Linked DNA regions of Homo sapiens: regions 1, 2, 3, 4, 5 and 6 are each linked to region 7. The links are contacts of gene promoters, found by promoter capture Hi-C in blood cells and fetal thymus (Javierre and others, 2016). All regions are on one chromosome and are shown on one strand. Each heading gives the region's core, a stretch centred on a gene start or on the middle of the fragment in contact. The rest is flanking DNA. Distances are from core to core; before and after follow the strand shown.

Region 1 (2,700 bases), core at 99-2,598, 970 kb before region 7:
GCCTCTGGAGTAGCTGGGATTACAGGCACGCGCCACCACACCGAGCTAATTTTTGTATTTTTAGTAGAGACGCGGTTTCAGCATGTTGGCCAGGATGCCCTGGGTCTCTTGACCTCGTGATCCACCCGCCTCTGCCTCCCAGCGTGCTGGGATTACAGGCATGAGCCACTGCGCCCGGACTTTTTTTTTTTTTTTTTTTTTTTTTTTTTTTGAGACCGAGTTTCACTCTTGTTGCAATGACGCGATCTCGGCTCACTGCAACCTCCGCCTCCCGGGTTCAAGCGATTCCCCTGCCTCAGCCTCCCGAGTAGCTGGGATTACAGGCATAAGCCACCATGCCCGGCTAGTTTTGTATTTTTAGTAGAGACGGGGTTTCTCTGTGTTGGTCAGGCTGGTCTCGAACTCAGGTGATCCGCCCGCCTCGGCCTCCCAAAGTGCTGGGATTACAGGCGTGAGCCACAGCGTCCAGCCAACGTTTTTAATTCTTAAAACTGTGTTTGAATGAGTGTTGGGTTTTTGTTGTTTGGTTTTCTTTGGGGTAAGGCGGTTATCACCTTACACAAAAAATTTACATCATAATATGAAAATGCCCATTGGTTCATTCAAGGAAAAACATAAAGAATTTCTAACAGAATGGATTAATGGGGTGGAAGAAATTTATCCATTCTCTAAAAATTTTTCAAATCCCAAAAACTTTTTTTTTTCATTTTACAAAATATTTACTTCAAACAGTAGCTGGCATTTTGCATTTAAGAGTTCGACCAAAAGGGACAGAAATATAAATTGCTAATTATTAGCAATGGAAATGAAAATGAATCAGAAGTGACAATAAAGATTTCTAAAATTACAAGTCGATGAAAAATGAATTTACTGTAAATTGGTTAACACAAATCGCTGTAGTAACATATCTGCTATGTGAAATTTTTAAAATAAAAACCAGGGCGGAGAAGGGGAGAAGGAGATCTCTTTCCAAGGCCCACCACCCAAATTCTAATTCTTAGTTCACAGATCCAAATAATAATAATGTGTTGTTCTATGACTTCTAGTATTAAAAGTAAATATAAATTTACTCTGCATATTAAACATTTACATTATTCTAGGACTTCTCCTTTAAATTACGATAGTACACACACAAAAACCTTATTTATCTAATTGCCTTTCGTTGGCACATAAAGACAAAGATCGTTTGCAACATAATCGCGTTCTGATAGGTTTGACCCTCTCTAGTCTTCGTAGAAGGTGGCCAAGGTTTCCGTTACCCCGGCGTCCCTCGGGCACCGCGGAAACGAAACTCCATCAGGCTCCGCCCCACGGTCTGCGGAGTGAGCCAATCAGGGCACAGCCTGCGTTGACCGCGTGCCGGGTGTCATGGCGGCCTGCAGGTACTGCTGCTCGTGCCTCCGGCTCCGGCCCCTGAGCGATGGTCCTTTCCTTCTGCCACGGCGGGATCGGGCACTCACCCAGTTGCAAGTGCGAGCACTATGGAGTAGCGCAGGGTCTCGAGCTGTGGCCGTGGACTTAGGCAACAGGTAAGGAGTGACGTGCGTTCACTGTATTGTCATAAGGTGTCTTGTCCAGCCAGCTTGAGCGTATTCATCTCCCAGGGTAGAAACCCGGTATCCCAGCTCTATTTAATCTCTCCTTACCCTAAACCTAAATTCCAAATTTCCCTTTCCGGGTTTGGAATGTGTCTCCTCGGACCCTCCTTCCCGCGCTATGTCGTTCTCTCTGTTGGTGTGTGCCGGGCTTCTTTGCTCCATCCGACTCTGTCCGTCCACCTGACTTCCGATCTCTTTACTTTCCGGGACCACTGGGCTCTTAAGTGGGAAACATTCCACCTAGGAATAACGAGTTGACGTGGGTGAGACGAGGCCCCCCGGGATGCTGGCCCGGACCCTGGAAGCTGGGGCTCTGATGCCCCTCGAGCTGGGACACAGACCTCAGCAGAGGCTCCGGGTGGCTAGTGCACCACGGGTCCCCCACGTCCCACTCCTCGGGCTCCTTCAGCCTCCTCTTCACCAGGAGCCTACCTTGTAGAAGTTGAACACCAGGTCCAGTTCACAGACATTGTGGAAATATTCGTTTAAGACCTGGGAGAGGAAGGCAGAGATGGTAAGAGATGGACAGGGAGAGAGCCACACACGCACAGAGATGGGAACAAGGTCATCAGAAAGAGACAGCAAAAAAAAGAGACCAAGAGGGAGGCAGGGGAGAGAGAGAGACAGTGACAGGGAGAGAGGCAAGGAGACACACAGAGAGAAACAAAAGCAAAGATCGATGCAAAGAGATGGCAAAAGGTCAGGCGCTCACACCTGTAATCCCAGCACTTTGGGAGGCTAAGACGGAAGGATGACTTGAAGTTAGGAGTACAAGATATCATGTCATCCAATCTAATTGATTGCCTAAAGTGTGACCACTATGACCCTGGGTTAGGAGGAAAAGGAAAAGTCAGTTTTTTGAACGCCAGTTATATGATCCTCGCAATCTTTTTAAACCTGTCGTAAAGGTACTATTACCCTCATTTTATAGTTAAGACTACAGAGGCTCAAAAAAGGTTAGATAACTTTCTAAGAGTCTATAAAAAAGTTAGTATTATGGGACTAGGTGGTTTTTGAATTTCTGTTTTTTGCTTACAAAGCCCATACTTTTTTTTAGGGGACCGCTTTTTAAAAAAAAAGTTTGCTTTAATCGTTCTTAGAA
Region 2 (2,700 bases), core at 87-2,586, 810 kb after region 7:
CAGGAAACTACCCAGCTCTGCTGGGGGAGCTGCACACAGAAAAGGAAACAGTTACTACTCCACGGTGAGTAACCCTGTTTTCTCCTTATTTCACCTTCTGACTGTTTTCATTTATTTTTAAAAGCTTATGTGTCAGACTTGGAAGTAGTTCCTGTTTTCAGAGTTAATTTAAAATCTAGCAACATATAAGATTTCTCTTTATTTAGTGACCCTTTGTTCACTGGCAGGATAAGAGCCAGGTTTTCATTTGTGTTTATAGTTATTATTGCTACCTAGGATTGAATTGGATAATAGAACACAAAAATAGGCCTAACTGTCTCTTGTGAGACATTTGTACTTTGAAGGGAAAAAATCTATTAGTGGCTTGGTTTTACATCTTTTATGTTTATTTTTATTTGGAAGGGGAAGGGTTATTGGGAAGATAGGATGTTCTTTCACTTATACACAGGAAGAATTTTATATTATTGTTTACAGCTGTTTCATGACAATTCGCCCAGCCTTCATTTACATATGTGATTTGTATTATATATTTTGTTTTTGTGTTATTAGTTATTTCTTTTTCAGCATCCCTTCTTTCCTACCAGTGATTCTTTTCATAGTCCTGCTCTAATCATATCTAAAGAAGATTCCCATCTAGTGGTACGAATACTATAGTTGTTGAAAATTCATAGGTCCTTTTTTAGTGGTACAAATATTTTAATACATTTTACTATATGTTAGGTGGCCTGGTACTATCTAGAAGCTATGAAGCAGATTTAATTTTATTATTATTACATAGAGGGTGTTATTTACAGTATGTTGTGCTGGAATTATTTTTTTGAATTGTATTGTTCCTTAGGTTAAATGATACTATGGTTTGTAAAATGAACTAGTGAATGAGTAGGATGGATTTCACATGAGGAAGGGAGAGGTAGTGATGGAATTTGATTTGACTTACATATTGTTAACATAGCTTTTAGTCAGAATATAGATCTGTAAGACAGTGCCTTAAGACTATTCACTTAAGATTATGTGCATAGCTAAAAGCTACCAGAACAGTTTAATATATCACAGATTACATCCTGGGCACAATGAGATCTATAATGTCACAAAGAGATACAGTCATGATATTTTACTTGGGTAATGGGTAGAGATTTCTTTTAGTAAAAAATCTTCTAAAGGTCAGAAGAGGTAGGATACTATGGCTCATGCCTGTAATCCCAGTGCTTTGGGAGGTGGAGGTAGGAGGATTGCTTGGGGCCAGGGATTTGAGACCAGCTTGGGCACCATAGCGAGACCCTGTCTCTACCAAAAAGTAAATAAACAAAATTAGCTGGCGAGGTGGTGTGCACCTGTAGTACCAGCTACTCAAGAGCCTGAGGTGTATGTGAGTCCACTTGAGCCAGGAAGGTTGGGGCTGCAGTGAGCCATGATCGTACCATTGCACTGCAGCCTGGGTGGCAGAGGGAGATCCTATCTTGAAAAATAAATAAATAAATAGCTACACTTGCTGAGAAGCATTTATTGTAAATCATGTTAATCCAGTTAATTTGTGGTAGGCAAGAAGAGATCAAATTATGGTGGATAAGAATAAACAAAAGCTGTAATGTATACTACCCAGATATGTCCTATATATAGTCTTCCCTTGGTGAAGTTAGGGGATTGGACCTACAGCATACCAAAATACATTCATACTCAAGTGCCACAGTAGGCCCTGTAGAGCTCACATACAGGAAAAGTCAGCCCTCCATATGTGTAGATTTCTCATCTGGCTAATACATTTAGTTGAAAAAAAAATCTGCGTGTAAGTAGACCCACACCTGTGTTGTTCAAGGGTCACCTCTGTGTAGGAGATATGGAAGCTGTATTTTAATCCAAGTTTTAAAAGTCGAGGAAGAAGATAAGGCTTTTATTTAAATACATTACTTAATATTTTACAATCTTATACAGGATTTTTTAAAGTAGTCAGCATAAATGATTATTTTTCAAATTCCCTGATAAGAAAACAATTCAAAGTGTCACATGGATTTTAAGAAATTTGGTGTCAGGACTCTTAGATGAAACTTGTTTGAAAAACTTTAAATTCCCAAATGACAGGCTTTTTAGATATAGTAAAAACTATGGAGAATAATTGGTTATAAAGAATGCTTTTTTTAATTTGTATAATATGACAGTAACTAAAGTGACAGTAATTAAAATTCATGCTTGATTTAATATTATATGGCATTAGATACAGACTGCATAAGCTGCAGACTGTATATTTCTACTTCAGAAAACTAAGTGTTTATGGCAGCAGTGGGGAGACACATACTCTAATAGGATGGCTCATAGCAAGCACTTCCCCTGCTCTAACAGTGGGCGGGGGGAGGGTGGGAACTCTCTTGTGCTTTATTCTTGTTACTCTTGAGTACAGGCCTTTTCTCTTTGGTGAAATCTAATTTCAGTAAAGACATAACGTTCATGTAAAGGAATCTGATTTTATTTTTTACTAACAGATTTTGGATACATACATATTTTTGATCATGCAAAAATATTTAAGATGCTCAGGTTTGCCAGTGGTTGAAGCTTTATAGAAGGAAAACAAAATTTTAAGAGGAATTTGGTCTTGAAAGTCTGAAAAAGCAAATTAACGTTTGATACTATTAATATACAATATTAATAAGCTTTGAAGTAAGTTAGTGAAAAAGAAGCCATTCTTTGTTTATACTCTATGGGCTTGGT
Region 3 (2,700 bases), core at 199-2,698, 960 kb after region 7:
AAACAAGCCAGTGCTACAAACCAGTGCTATAAACTGGGCTTTCTTCCCTCTGGACAGCTAGTTATTAAATGTTAACCAGCACACTACTGAGTGAAGGTCATTGACTAAAGGCGAGATTCTGACATTTAGTATAGAGGGGGTAGGAAGAAAACAAATGGTGACTGAGCATTGCTTTGTGATAGTCATTGTGCCACATGCTCAATTTATCTTCTTTATCTAATATTTATAAAAATGGTGTTAGAGGCAGTATTATCCTCATTTTATTGGTGAAAAGACCAAGGCTCAGAGAAGTTGACTTGTAAAAGGTTACATAATAAACTAGGGTATTTGATTTGAACCCATTTCTCTGACTCTAAAGCCCTTTTTTTTCCTCTCATACCAAGCTTCTAACATTTAATTGAATGAATTTATAGCATTCAGTTAAAATGAGGTTGACTATAATACTCTGCATTGTAACACTCAGAACCAATTTCATTTCATTGATCGTGGAAATTCAGACCCTCTTTCCTGCATACTTGTCATCACCAGGTATAGGTCCTTAAAATATAAACTTCTGGGTCCATAGCCCATCAGAACTACTAATTTGTTACCTGCTGGACGGGAAAGGAAATAATCTTTACATTGTTTTTGGTAGTGGTAGGTGTTTTTTTTGTTGTTGTTGTTTTGTTTTTTTCTTTTTTTTGTCTTAACAGGTAAGAGATGGTAAGGCTAAACTTCCTAAATCATAATGCAGGAAATTTGTCATGATTGTTTTTAAAATCACATGTTCAAGTGTCTAGTGTCTATTATAGTTGAGTGTTTGAAGATAGTGGAAAAATAGATGTTATTCCTCTAATTTCAAACGCTTAAGATATGTTTTCAGAATCTGTTTGAAGTTAACTATAAAGCTTGAGTTCCCAAACTATTTTTAGTAACAAAGACATGAGTTTGAATATCCTTTTCTAGGCAAAAAGCTCATTTCCAATATACTGTTACATCTCTTCTTCATATCGGAATAGTGTAGTTTATGTTACAGATTTTTTTCATCTGCTGAGTAAACTTGGGCATGCTTTTGACTAAAGGCATTTGAACTGGCTGTTAAATTCATCTCTACAGTTGTCCTGCCATATCCACAGGGAATTGGTCCCAAAATGTCCACGGACACCAAAATTCATGGATGCTCCTCAAGTTCGGCAGTCTGCCCTGAAGATAGGAAAACGTCCTATACACACATACAAAAGGTCAGCCGTCTGTATCTGTGGGTTCCACATCCTACAAATGCTATTATCTTCCATCCCAGTTGGTTGAATCTGCAGGTGCAAAACCCGTGGATACAGAAGCCCGACTGTATTTCCTTTTTTTCTGAGACAGAGTCTTGCTCTGTTGCCCAGGTGGGAGTGCAGTGGTGCGACCTCAGCTCACCACCACCTCCACCTCCCAGATTCAAGCGGTTCTCCTGCCTCAGTCTCCCAAGTAGCTGGGACTACAGGTGCACACCACCAATGCCTGGCTAACTGTCTCACTTTGTTGCCGAGGCTGGTCTCAAACCCTTGGCTCAAGTGATCCTCCTGCCTTGGCTTCCCAAAGTGCTGGGATTACAGGTGTGATGCATCACACCTGCTGTCTTTTATTATATAATTTTCCTACCTCCCTGAGGTTTATCTAATATTAATACACTGTCAGAGATTCCTAAAAGATAATTAGTGCACCCAAATAAGAAGGTATGTAGGCCTACACAAATAAAATGGAAATATCTAAAATGATTAGAAGAGTTTTGCTTCACTGTCTCTTCAATTTAGATTTGGAATCCATTCTGAGTACCATACATGGTCTTCTGACTCAAGTTGGAGAAGAGCATTCAAGTGTGGTGTAGATTACATAGAAGTTTAATATGCATACATATTTTTGTATTTCTTATGTATCTCATTTTAGTTTTCTGTTTAACATATTAGCACAGATAACAAATTTGCTTGTCTTCTCTCCTGTATTGGAGGTTGGGTGTAATGGGTGTTGAGATTTTATGAAGCTTGTCATCCTGGAGGGCAGTAATGATCTTCACTGACAATTAATGCCATTCAATAATAAGTCATTTGCTGACTAAAAGTCCCTTAAAAATCTTATAATTATTAAGCATATAGCTAAAAAATACTTTTATTTGGCTAATAAATGATCTAGCTCATAGTATTTTTTATTAGTTCATGTTAAATAAGAAAATACGCACTAATACTGGGCACAGTAACAGATGCAGAAGTTCCTTAGACAAATAAATCATTGTAGCACAGCGATTAAGAGTTACGGTCAGATGGACCTGAATTCTAGTGACTCTACCATTTTATTGGTGTGACTTTGGACAGGTTTTTTAACCTCTAAGTGGTTTAGTTTTTTCATCTGTTAGATAGAAATATTCCATTGTTCCAGCTCAGGCCAGAAACTCTGGGCCATCATTAATTCCTTTCTTTTTCTCATATTTCTCATCTAGTCAGTCAGCAAATTTGTGTATGTGTATGTCTATATTTGTGTGTATGTATACACACACACACACACACACACAGTTAGATCACTTCTCACTACCATTAATACCTTGTCTGCGTTGCTATAATAGCATCTTAACAGATCTTCTCTATCTGCCATTGCTCCTTCTGCATCCTATGACAGACCACCCTCAATATATTAGAGGGATCATTTTAAAATGCAACAGACCAAGTCACTCTTCTGCTCTCT
Region 4 (2,700 bases), core at 152-2,651, 940 kb after region 7:
GGCAACAGACTGAGACCCTGTCTCAAAAAACAAACAAAAACAGAAAAACCCAAACCAAACCAAACCAAACCAAAAAACCCCTAACACTTGCAAATAGAAAGCTATGTGGTAATAACATCCATTAACTTGACACATCTTGTTTTGACATCATAGTGTCACTTACTGTTTCAATGAAATGGTAATGAAAGAATATAATAAAGTATTGCAAGTTGAATGCTTGAAGGTAATTGGAATAAAAAGTTTAAAAAAATTTTGCTTTTTCCGGGACTTCAATTTGAAGTAAATGAGTTAATTACTACATGGTAAGTGTCATAAGAGTACAATATTTATTAGCCTGCAGTAGGTACACGTGGACAGGAAGACTTTTCAGCGGTCCACTCCCCCAAGAGGGAATTTTCATTTCCGCGAGGTTACAAATGTTCTTCACTACAGGAAAACTCAACATAGAAGCTCATGTTCTGGGGACTCAAATAACAGTCGTAATACATGAAAACTGTAAAGGATATTCTGCATAAAGGGTCGTTAACATCTCACAGGCCAAATAGCCCTCTCAGAAACAACTAGGAAAGGAAAAAGTTCCCTTGGAGCTGTGCGTTTGCGTATGTCCGTGTGTGTATACAACTGAGGGAGAACGAATACGAGAGAGGGAACTCGAGTCTGAAGTACTGTGGTGTGGGCAGGGTGACATGTAATACTGAAGGAAAGAAGTCTGCTGGTGAAGTAAGAGCCACAGTTAATTTTCCGAAAGGAAGATGAGTAAGTGCACCTGACGTTATTCTACGAAAGCTGCTTCTGCAGGGTGGGAATGTTGGGAAGCAAGGTCTAGTGCGACAGAATTGAAAAGGTGGAGAGCAGGTGATTGCTGGATCCCTAATGCTCAGCAAGGGGGACGCATCCACATAACGTGAGAACGAACGAATGAATGAACGCTGCATAAAAGCAGCTTTGGCTTGGGGAAGGTAAGAGTCTGCAGAGAAGGTCTTGGGGAGAAAAAGCAAAGAAAACCGAGGGAAGAGGCCGAACCCTTAGTGTCAGGAGGAGGGGTGGCTGCGGGGTTAGTGAGGGCACTGACCAGAGAGAACTCGGTGCCGGGCCAGTTGACTCGGAAAGGGATGTCATCGCTGAGTTGAGGAAGGGCTCGGCCGCCGCCGGACGCCTCCAGGAGGCCGCAGAGGACCAGTAACACCGGCCCGCCCGGGACCAGACTCCGTACGCCGCCGCCTCCTTCCTCCATCCTCCGCCGCCGCTTTCTCCAGCCACCGCCACAACCTCCTCTGCTCCAGGAGGAGAGGAGGAGGAGGAGGAGGTGGAGGAGGAGGCGGCGGGACTATAAAGCGCCCGGGTATCACCGGCCCAACCGCCGCCACGTCTCCTTCCGGAGAGCCCGGCAACGCCGCCTCCGCCCCCTTGAGCCTCCTGTCACCGTTTCCGGGGCAGACGACATATCAACATCCGGGGGTCGCGGAGCCGTCCGCCTACGGGGGCCGGGACGTCGCCTGCGCGTCTCTCGTTTTCGGACGGCTGCAGCATCGCGGTGGGGATCGAAAGCGGGGGCTTCTGGGACGCAGCTCTGGAGACGCGGCCTCGGACCAGCCATTTCGGTGTAGAAGTGGCAGCACGGCAGGTCGGTGAGTCTCGGAGGCGGCAGCCGCTTCCTGAAGCCATTCCCGCTGCTCTCCAGTGGGCAGGCAGAGGTTTGACCCACACGGAGTGATAGCGGGAAGAAGACAGTGTGAACCGTGCGGGTGCGGGTCCTTAGATGAGAAAATTCGAAGTAGCGATGAGATGTGAGAAATGGCGGTGTTCCTGACTGACCTGCCTTCTTGCAGCTTTTCTTCTTTTTCTCCGCATTTGGCATTTGTACACTTCATTTTTCCCGCTTGAGGCTTATCTCCATCTCTTCTGCTGTGGACCGTGGCCATCTCGTTACTTAACAGCTTCTGACTAACGCAGGGCAGTTTGTTCAGCGACTGCAACTCTGTGTTAGGGGAAACCTGGGGTGAGGTAGCCCGCCATCTCCCCGTAGGTGAATACCGCAAGCCTCCGAATTTGGCGTGGTGGGCGACTCTCGTGGAATGGGCAGCTAGACATCACAACCCTACATTTTTACCCTCCATCTCTAGATTGAAGTGTTGGGGTGTTGTTTTATCAAGGAAGCTGGTAAGGTTCCTTATGTGAGGTTTAGCGCCAGATGAATGTGTGTGTTTATGAACTAAGTCACGTCTGACTGCATCCCCAAATTAGACAAAAAGTTTTGTTTTTCCCTCCCCCTCTTTAGAAAAAATGCCATTGTCTGTTTTGATCTCCAATATAATGGACATAGAGTGTTGGCTTTAGAGAAATTACCATTCCCTAAAGCTCGACAGTCTTGCTAGATCTGTTAAAGACTGGTCGCCCCCACTTCCTCAGATTTGAACCAAATCAAAAAGCAGGAAGGACAGTCCCATATTCTATCTTAAAAATTTTTTTTTAACATCAGGAATCCATAGTATCAAAGAAGATAACTTTCTTCAGAATTGTTATTCGCTAATTATATTCAGCACTTCTTATTAATGCTTAATGTGATCCAGACTCCTGGGATTTTTGTTGTTGTTGTTTGTTTTGAGACAAAGTCTCGCTCTGTCACCCAGGCTGGAGTGCAGAGGCATAATCTTGGCTCACTGCAACCTCCGCCTCTGGAGTTCAAGGGATTCTCCTTTT
Region 5 (2,712 bases), core at 213-2,712, 800 kb before region 7:
TGTTTTTGAACATTGTTAAAAAATTACCTGTAAAAATAACACTTTAATAACTACGATTTGAATATTGATTATAGCAATGAAAATGTAATGAAAAGATTCAGTGGTCAAACTGAATTTCATCTTTACCAGATTCATGATATCTTGGAATTTAAAGAAGTCTTAAAAGGTCATCCAGGATAACCGACCATTTGATAGCTGAATAGCTGAATCCCTCTAACCCTATTAAGTCGCTATCAGATCCATTCAAACACTGCTGGAGCCGGGAAGCTCATTACCTTCTGAGGCTGGCTAACTCATCTTGGATACATTCTATCATGAAACACTTCCTTCACTGAAATTTGTTTCCCTGTAGCTTGTACCAACTGACCCTAGCTCTATTCTACTCAACCTTACAACACAAAGCAGATGTTCAAATAATTGATGAATACTACTACCCTCAAAGTCTTGCCCGATTAAACAACCACAATAACGCTTGGGCACTCATTTATATGACGTGGTTTCTGGTTCCTTTTCTGCGAATGGGCTGCAAATAGTCTCCACGAACTGAATGCAGAACTCCAAGCCTGAAGAACTGCTCAGAACCCGGAGATGCCTGTCCTTCACGGGGAATATTATGCCATATCTATACGCCTCATTTGTTCCAAGAATGGTCCTGCCCCACCTCGCCAATTTTTGGTATAGCGAAGAGTAGAGAGCTCACCAAGGGGAACACAGGCCACCAAAATCACCGGCTCTGGGCTTCCTGGAGTTATCACATGCCCTCCTTTGCAGTTAACTGTTGGTTTGGAGTGAAATCATTTCTCATTTCCTAAGCTGACTACACCGGGCGAAATGCTAGGGATCATAAGGAACTCAGGTAAACCGACGCTTCTCCTCTCAAGTCTGGCAAAGCTGTTGAAGAAGCCCAGCCAAACAGTCCACCTGCCGAGGGCAGAAACGTTCGGGACAGGGTGAGAGACCGAATTTACGATTCAAGTCTAATGTTCTTCGGACGTGCGCTTCGGCCCCAGAGAAGGGGAGTCTCGGTCCCCGTTTTCAGGTCTGCGAAGGAACACATTGGCAGGGTGAAAGGAATTCCTCCCACACAACCAGCTCTAAACCTGATGACGCGGGTGGAGAAGGTGGTGAGGGGAACGAGACCTTGCGACAGGGGTGGAGACAGGGGGTCGGGGAGACGAGAGATGGCTTGTGGTTACCAACCCCCTGCCCGCCGCTGGTGTGAGAGAGGAGAAAAGGATTGTCGGTTCGGGCTCTGGTTTTTACCTTCACATTTCTGTTCCACAAAGTCCAAGATGGGGATGGACCAGTCTGGGCCTCGCAGGAACCCCGCGATGCTCTCCACTACCCACTCCACCTCGTCTTCTTCTTCCGCAGCCATCCCGCCCCAAAGGGGCAACGGGGAAGATCCCTAGGCCAGACCGCCGGACCCCGGTTAGGCCTTTGGGCCACAAGGAGCCGAGAGGGAGTAGGGGAAGAGCTGGCCCGCAGTCGCTCAGCCCCCAGGATAGAAGCTACCAACCAGTTAATGCAAAATGGTCGCTATGGCAACACACGTAGCCGCCCTAGACCGCGGCCCGGAAGTGAAGACAACTTTCCAGGAGCCTGCGCACTTAGCGGGGAGGGCAAACGTTTGAAAAACGTTTCTGATTGGTTAAAAAAGAACAGTGGACGAGGGCTGAGAAAAGAAGTGTAGCTATTGGCTGGAAGTCATAGACAGATTGCGCTCTCTCTTCTGATAAATGCGTAGGAGCCAAGGTTTAGAAAACGCGCAGTAGACGGGCGCGGTGGCTCACGCCTGTAATTCCAGCACTTTGGGAGGCCGAGGCTTGCGGATCACCTGAGGTCAGGAGGTCGAGACCAGCTTGGCCAACATGGTGAAACCTCGTCTCTACCAAAAATACAAAAATTAGCCTGGCGTGGTGGCGCCGCCTGTAATCCCAGGTACTCGGGAGGCTGAGGCAGGAGAATCGCTTGAACCCGGGAAGCCGAGGTTGCAGTGAGCCACTGCACTGCAGCCTGGGAGACTGCGTCTCAAAAGAAAAACAGGAAGAAAGAAAAGAAAAAAGAAAAGGCTCAGTGAGGGTCTGAGGTAACCGGGTCTCCACCTGACAGGGCTTCAGCGGCTGCAGTTCATCATTGTATCCCCAGCACCTCAGTCCCAACCATTTTCAGACCATTGGCCCAGAGGCGTTTGTAATTAAAGGGTTGTCTGAAAATACAAAGCCGAGCTGTGTGAGACTCGCTGATTGTCTTACGGTCAGTTTGCATCTGTATCTTCAGGCGGGTCTTTAATCTCTTACGCTTGGATAAAGATAACTAGAATTAGGAGCTTTTCAAGGGCAAGAGCAAAGTTAATACTCACTTAAATAAATGCCTTGGTAACCAAATCTTATTATAACTCCAACTCAGCATTTAGGTGGAGTCCATTGTGGAATGGGGTCTTCAGTGGTCATTGTGAAGGTGTTTGGAGTCCCAAAATATCTTCAGACAACCATATATATATATATATTTTTTACATAAATAGGATTATATGTACAGTTATGAATTTTTTTCTTATATCTTTATCTTTTAAAAATATAAATTTGTGCTTTCTTTGCAACTGCATAGTATTCCATAAACCATCCTTTAGTCTATTTTTATTTTGTGAATGTGCACACAGTATCTTACCTGAATGCATGAAGATGATCATTATGTGCCTTTTTTTTTTTTTTT
Region 6 (2,700 bases), core at 116-2,615, 780 kb after region 7:
TTGTCCTGGTAGAGCCAAGGGGGCAGGAGGCATAAATCTGCAAGTTTATATGGTTCACTGTCTCAGTAACTGGAGGCGAAGACTATTGGTTTTCCTCAGGCTTATCTGTTAGTATTTGACATTTACTTTGTTAATGGCATCATAAGGAAATCGAGGTCCAGAGAGGAAAATTCACACAGAATCATTGGTTGAAACTGGAACAAGAGCTTAAGAACTGGGACAAGAACTCTCTTTTTACCCTTAATAATAGGGTGGCAGTTGGGGAGGAATTTCCTATTTTGATGTGATTTCCTAAATCATAAATTAGTAGCTACTCAGAGGCAGTAAGAGCAAAATAAGCACAAAAGTTTAATTCTTAAGGAAATTGAGAATACAATTTATTATGGCTAAGTATGAAATAATAATTAACATTTATTATCCTTAATTCTGGGCCGTATACCTGCTTTCTATACCTTATCTCATTTAATTTTTGTAACAGCTTTATGAGAGGTAGGTATTATTGCTTATATTGATGAGAAAACAGCTATAATATAACTAGGAAGTAGCAGAACTGATACTCAAATTAAGATCTGTCTGACTCTAAGGCCAAACTGTAAACCATTATATGCACTACTGTGGCTTTCTTTTTCAACCTGATGTATCTTTTTAAAGAGGAAATAGGGTATAAGAAAACCCATCCAAAGCTTAGTTACTCTGTAGATCCCTTTTGATTTTAAAAAAAAAAACAAGTGTTTTGAATTGTTATCACTTTAGTATTATACATTTCCAACAGTTGGAAAGTATTTAGTGATTATTCACTCCCTCTAAAAATTAGTGAAATGTAGTCTAGTAGCATCTAGCCTTAACCTTTTATTTTATTTTTAAACAGAAACATTGTTCCCTTCATCTTGAGAGATTACAAGAATCACAAAAGGTCACTATACAGATATCACAGGTTAGAGAGATTGTACCCTTTTCTGGATAAACATCATAAATCCAATGGTACAGGCCTTATATTTAAGAAGGGGTTGAAATTGACTTTATTTAGAGTAACTAAATTGCATTCCCACATACCCTAATCCTCTAATAAGTGAAGTGACTCTATCAAGTGTTATAATTAACTTCCTATTCTTCTGAAGCGTGAAGGGAACTGAAGAAAACATGTAGCTTTGCAGCCTTTTATGACTTGCTTTCTAGAATCGTTTATGACATTATGCGAAAGTATATTGGTATAGCAAGGTCGTATGTGAAAACAGCAGGTTTTCTGTGTAGCGCAGAACCAATAAAATAAATGTAATATTAATGAGAACACAAGCATTAGTACTGATAGAATTATGTATCTTATGCTCATTTTCATGGATAAACAGTTTACAATTTTAGAATTACCTTTTAAAAATCTTCATTTAAATTGAGTAATTTAGTTTAAAACTAGATGACTCTTTAAACCTTAGCTGTTAATTCTATACTTTGTTACTAAAAGAAGACCCAAGATCTGTGCTTTTTGTTACTCTGATATAAAATGTTTATTATTACAAATCAATAGACAGATAAGTATAAATATATATGAGCAGATAGCCTTTTTATAAGCACTTTGGAAGTGCCCAGAAATAAAAATCATAGCTGTGGTCTTCAGGGAGCTTTAAACGTAGTTGGATAGAAGTTTGCCCTGTTTTTTTTTAATGGGCAAACTTAGATTTTCTCTAAACTGTGTTTTTGAATTGCTTAGCCTTTTCATAAGAAAAAGAAGAACCTCCCTCTCATGATCAGAGACAGTGCTTATTGATGGCCTTTTGGCCATGTAGTTTCTTTTTTATTTTAGAAGTCATCTCATGTGTTGTAATCTAGTTGCCTCTTCAGTTAATTTTTCTCTGAGTAGTTTTGAAATTAAAGAGGATTTCTACTGCTCCAAGTAATGAGATTATAGTTTTCCTCTCTTGGTTATATAATATGTTGATTATTTGTGATGAGTTTGCTCTCTGTTATTCCTTGGAATTTCTTTGCAGATTAGTTCCTAAACTTTCAGAGAAGTTGGATAGACTTCTGGACTTAAGAATTTCAAAAAGCTTAATAAGAAAGTGTCAGGTGGAGACATTGCCTGAAACTTACTCCTTTCATATATATATATATATATATATATATATATATATATATATATATATATGTATATATATATTTATATATGTATTATATATATATTTAAATATGTATTATATATATTTAAATATGTATTATATATATTTAAATATATATTATATATATATAAATTTTTTTGAGATTTGGGGAATTTTATTTTTACTTGTACATATCATACTGTAAGTAGTCACACACGTATTTTAAAATTCCAGCTCAAAATTATCTAGTGCTCCATTGTTTATATTGTTTGTTTGCATTTGACCGCTTGACTATGATCTAGTAAATATTTAAATATTCCATTCTGGTCACGTGTTTAAACCAGTACACATTGGCCTTTTTATTAAAAAAGAAATGTGGATTATAAATTCATACACACATTTTTATGTTGGTCTCCTGTATTCACTTGAGGCAACTACATGTTGTAAAGTAAGTTATAATTTTTAATGTTACTCGACTAACTTTATAAGTATCTGCTCAAAGAGATGCTATTGTTCTTTTTGATAATTGTTGCTGGCCTTAAAGTGCCTGGGAGGGTTATCGAACTCTCATCAATTGGTTGTGAAAGCTAATTTCTGATGGAAACACCCA
Region 7 (2,700 bases), core at 164-2,663:
TCCGATCCGCCATGATAAGCCGACCCCGCGCGCCCCCCGCCCCCCCGCGCGCCGGGGCCGTCCTCGCCGAGGCTGGGGCTGCGGCGGACCTGCAGGGGCTCAGCGCGCGGCGCAGGGCGCTGATTTCCGCGGCGACACACAGGCACAGCCCAGCGGGCCGGCCGCCACCATCATCCGCTGCAGCCGCCGCAGACAAGCCGCCGCCGCCGGTGTGCGGCCGCCAGACCCCGCCGGGCGCCGGGCTCCCTCTACCCGGGCAAGGCGGCTCTGGGGGCGCCGGCACCGGCGCGCGCGCCTCACTGCACCTGCGGGCTCCGGCCCCCGGGAGAGGCTCTCGGGGGGGCCACCCCGCCTTTTACATCAGGAATCTGCATATCCCAACAGCGATCACCCAGTTCGCTCACTGAAGTTTGCGGTGCGCCGGGGCTTCGCGGCAGGCGGCGGGATTTATTCTGCGATAGCCTTGATTTGACAGGCAACCCGGGTGAGCTCTGCCATCGCCGTCTTTGGATCCGAAATTGACAGTCTATATCCAGGAAGCGAGAGCGAGGAAGAAAGAAACAGATTTTTCGCATAAGTCACCCAATCCAAGAAAATTATCCCCAAACTAAACCAAGTTGGGTATTTTTAAAAATTGTCCCCTACTCCCGCTTTCTCTCTCCAGTTCCATCTCCTTAATGATATGAAATATGCGTAAATGCTGCTGCCTGGCAGTTGCTGATGCGATTTGAAGGAACGCTTGCTGTTTCCCTAATAAGCGAGGGCGAATATGCAATGGTCATTTTTTAGATGCTCCAATTAGTTTTCATGTGTGTGTTTAATAATCATATCCTCCGTGAACCTTCTCTTCACCGAGAAAGCCATAAAGAACTTAGCAGCTCTCATTGATCAGCAACTCCAATCCGCATCATGAAAGATTGTCTTACTCGGAAGAAACGAGGCACTAGTGCAGTCGGAGGGAGTGCGCTACCTACAAACGCTCCTGGTCGAGGAGAAATCAAATAACAAGTGGCAAAAATCGTGTACTTCTCCCCAGAAACCTCTGCGCTAAACACCGGGTCCCACGGAATCCCGGGTCCTGCCCTGAGCCCAGCGTGGAGAGGGGTCGCCCGAGGGACCCGGGGGACAGCAACCCCCCACAGACGCACACGTCCCGGGGGTCGGCGCGCTGCGCGAGGGATGCCCGCCCTCAGGACTGTTCGGCCCGCGCGCACTGCCGCCCTGGCGGCGCCCTGCACTCCTCCCACTCTCGAACCAGCCTCGCCCGCGGAGCATCCGCGCGCTCTCTGCCTCTAACCTCTGCTGCCAGCGGACGCCACCGGCGCGTCCCGGATCCCGCGCGGGCGAGCGAGCGAAATCCTCTGCCTGCCCTCCCCTCCCCGCCTCCCGCACCCGGGGATGGACTTCGTCACTGGGGCGCCGCGGGAGACAGGTTCTTCCTCCAGCCGGGGCTCCGGGGGCGGGGCCACAACGCCGCGCTAGTGAACCTCAGCTGCCGGTTACTAGGCGAGATCTCGCCGCTTGGAAACAGCGACGCCCCGGAGGACTGGGGCCGCCCCCTCCCTCTGCCTGTCCCTGTGGCCTCTTCCCCCGACGCATCCTGGGAAGTGTAGTCCTCTCTGCGCCGGTTAGGGCGGACAGCGCGCGGAAGGGACCACAAGTCCCAGGATTCCGCGCGCCCAGAGGGAGTCGCAGCGAGACCTGTACCGGCGTCAGCGGAGCCTGCGGCTCTCGGGGTGAGGAGATCCCGGCTCACCAAGGACGATTGCCTGCCCACGCGGGCGTTCCCTTGTGACTGAGGCGGGAGCTGGCGTGCGTGGGTCTCTGTAGAGAAAAGCGGTGGAGTTGGAATGGAGACGGTCTCCCAGCCCACCACTGGAATTTCTCCTTCATCGGTCTCTGAGTGTTGCTGTAACCGACATCCTCACCATGCTGTAACTGACTCAAGCTTAAGTTTGTTTCCTACTTAAGTTTTCCTTTTCATTCACATGGATTTTAATTTGTTAAAGTGCAGTTCTGCCAAGTTTAAGAAAAATGCTGGGAATGTGAGCTCACTTCTGCCCTAAGAACCAGCGTCTTCCCATGACCTGCGTCCTAAATTAGAGGACTTGGGTATTTACAGATAACCGGAGGTTGGAAGCAGGAAGGTGCTCACGCCATGAACAGCTAACCTTGGCCTTCAAACGCAGAAGCTGGTGGCATTTCTCCTAAAACTGCCCGAGATGAACTATGAATCCACTGTGTTCTCAAGTAGCCTATTTCCAATTTAGGGCCATAGCTAGTCTTTGGAAAGAGATTTCAAAATCCCAGTGACTAAGAGGCTGCAAAAGGATGATGGATTGGACGTTTGGAACGTCCTTTCCCTCCCATGCTTTCAGTGTAATCGCTTACTCAGTTCATCTCCCTCAAGTTTTAAGACAACCCTCCGACCTGGTAGGAAAGCTCGAAAGAACTGGAAGTGCCAGAGTTTGGATGATTTGTTGCTGCCCGCAGTAATGAGGATTTGAATTGGTCTCATCTTTGTTTTTAAGGAAACAGAATCAACAAATAAGTGAGATGGCACTGTGCTAGGCAACAAGAACACTGCCAAAAACAAAAACACGGCCTGAGAAAGGTTTGAGATAGAAGCAAAAATATAGTTGATCAATGATGTCGTGCCATAAAACAGTGCCAAATGAATTATATAAAGACAGTAAGTTT

What was found. Contacts are between HindIII fragments. The CHiCAGO score rates a contact against its expected background, and 5 or more counts as called.
Region 1: the fragment with the promoter of PNPT1 here is called in contact with the fragment with the promoter of EML6 in region 7 in 2 of 17 cell types (naive CD4 T cells and activated CD4 T cells); the score reaches 5.5 in naive CD4 T cells.
Region 2: a contact is called between a fragment that was not itself captured here and the fragment with the promoter of EML6 in region 7, in 1 of 17 cell types (total B cells). The highest score is 5.3, in total B cells.
Region 3: a contact is called between a fragment that was not itself captured here and the fragment with the promoter of EML6 in region 7, in 2 of 17 cell types (non-activated CD4 T cells and activated CD4 T cells). The highest score is 6.2, in non-activated CD4 T cells.
Region 4: the fragment with the promoter of ERLEC1 here is called in contact with the fragment with the promoter of EML6 in region 7 in 10 of 17 cell types (naive CD8 T cells, non-activated CD4 T cells, total B cells and 7 more); the score reaches 14.4 in naive CD8 T cells.
Region 5: the fragment with the promoter of CFAP36 here is called in contact with the fragment with the promoter of EML6 in region 7 in 1 of 17 cell types (naive CD4 T cells); the score reaches 5.9 in naive CD4 T cells.
Region 6: a contact is called between a fragment that was not itself captured here and the fragment with the promoter of EML6 in region 7, in 1 of 17 cell types (total B cells). The highest score is 5.1, in total B cells.

The regions. Positions count from the first base shown.
Region 1 is chr2:55,692,492-55,695,191 of GRCh38, reverse strand. PNPT1 (polyribonucleotide nucleotidyltransferase 1) reads left to right here and starts at 1,348. Exons shown (of 28, transcript NM_033109.5): 1 at 1,348-1,529. The coding sequence starts at 1,369. RefSeq lists enhancers at 1,159-1,308, 1,339-1,398, 1,409-1,528 and a silencer at 2,099-2,158. The HindIII fragment of the contact is 6,564 bases long and covers 1-2,700 here.
Region 2 is chr2:53,911,235-53,913,934 of GRCh38, reverse strand. The region is part of intron 20 of PSME4 (proteasome activator subunit 4); the gene reads left to right. Among named protein-coding and RNA genes, the nearest start is that of GPR75-ASB3, 53 kb to the right of the region's middle. The HindIII fragment of the contact is 2,420 bases long and covers 127-2,546 here.
Region 3 is chr2:53,762,002-53,764,701 of GRCh38, reverse strand. All of the region lies in intron 2 of ASB3 (ankyrin repeat and SOCS box containing 3), which reads left to right. The region is part of intron 2 of GPR75-ASB3 (GPR75-ASB3 readthrough); the gene reads left to right. Among named protein-coding and RNA genes, the nearest start is that of CHAC2, 4.5 kb to the left of the region's middle. The HindIII fragment of the contact is 1,118 bases long and covers 890-2,007 here.
Region 4 is chr2:53,785,745-53,788,444 of GRCh38, reverse strand. It overlaps ERLEC1 (endoplasmic reticulum lectin 1), which reads right to left and starts at 1,401. Exons shown (of 14, transcript NM_015701.5): 1 at 1,073-1,401. The coding sequence starts at 1,234. It overlaps ASB3 (ankyrin repeat and SOCS box containing 3), which reads left to right and starts at 1,492. Exons shown (of 10, transcript NM_016115.5): 1 at 1,492-1,624. The region is part of intron 1 of GPR75-ASB3 (GPR75-ASB3 readthrough); the gene reads left to right. RefSeq lists enhancers at 1,409-1,828, 1,344-2,002. The HindIII fragment of the contact is 9,655 bases long and covers 1-2,700 here.
Region 5 is chr2:55,518,468-55,521,179 of GRCh38, reverse strand. It overlaps CFAP36 (cilia and flagella associated protein 36), which reads right to left and starts at 1,462. Exons shown (of 10, transcript NM_080667.7): 1 at 1,264-1,462. The coding sequence starts at 1,378. RefSeq lists enhancers at 682-931, 2,112-2,161. The HindIII fragment of the contact is 7,670 bases long and covers 1-2,712 here.
Region 6 is chr2:53,940,393-53,943,092 of GRCh38, reverse strand. The region is part of intron 3 of PSME4 (proteasome activator subunit 4); the gene reads left to right. Among named protein-coding and RNA genes, the nearest start is that of PSME4, 29 kb to the left of the region's middle. The HindIII fragment of the contact is 1,359 bases long and covers 686-2,044 here.
Region 7 is chr2:54,722,375-54,725,074 of GRCh38, reverse strand. It overlaps EML6 (EMAP like 6), which reads right to left and starts at 1,413. Exons shown (of 42, transcript NM_001039753.4): 1 at 1,298-1,413; 2 at 1-526. The coding sequence starts at 13. RefSeq lists silencers at 210-359, 1,031-1,520 and an enhancer at 1,661-1,880. The HindIII fragment of the contact is 5,681 bases long and covers 1-1,950 here.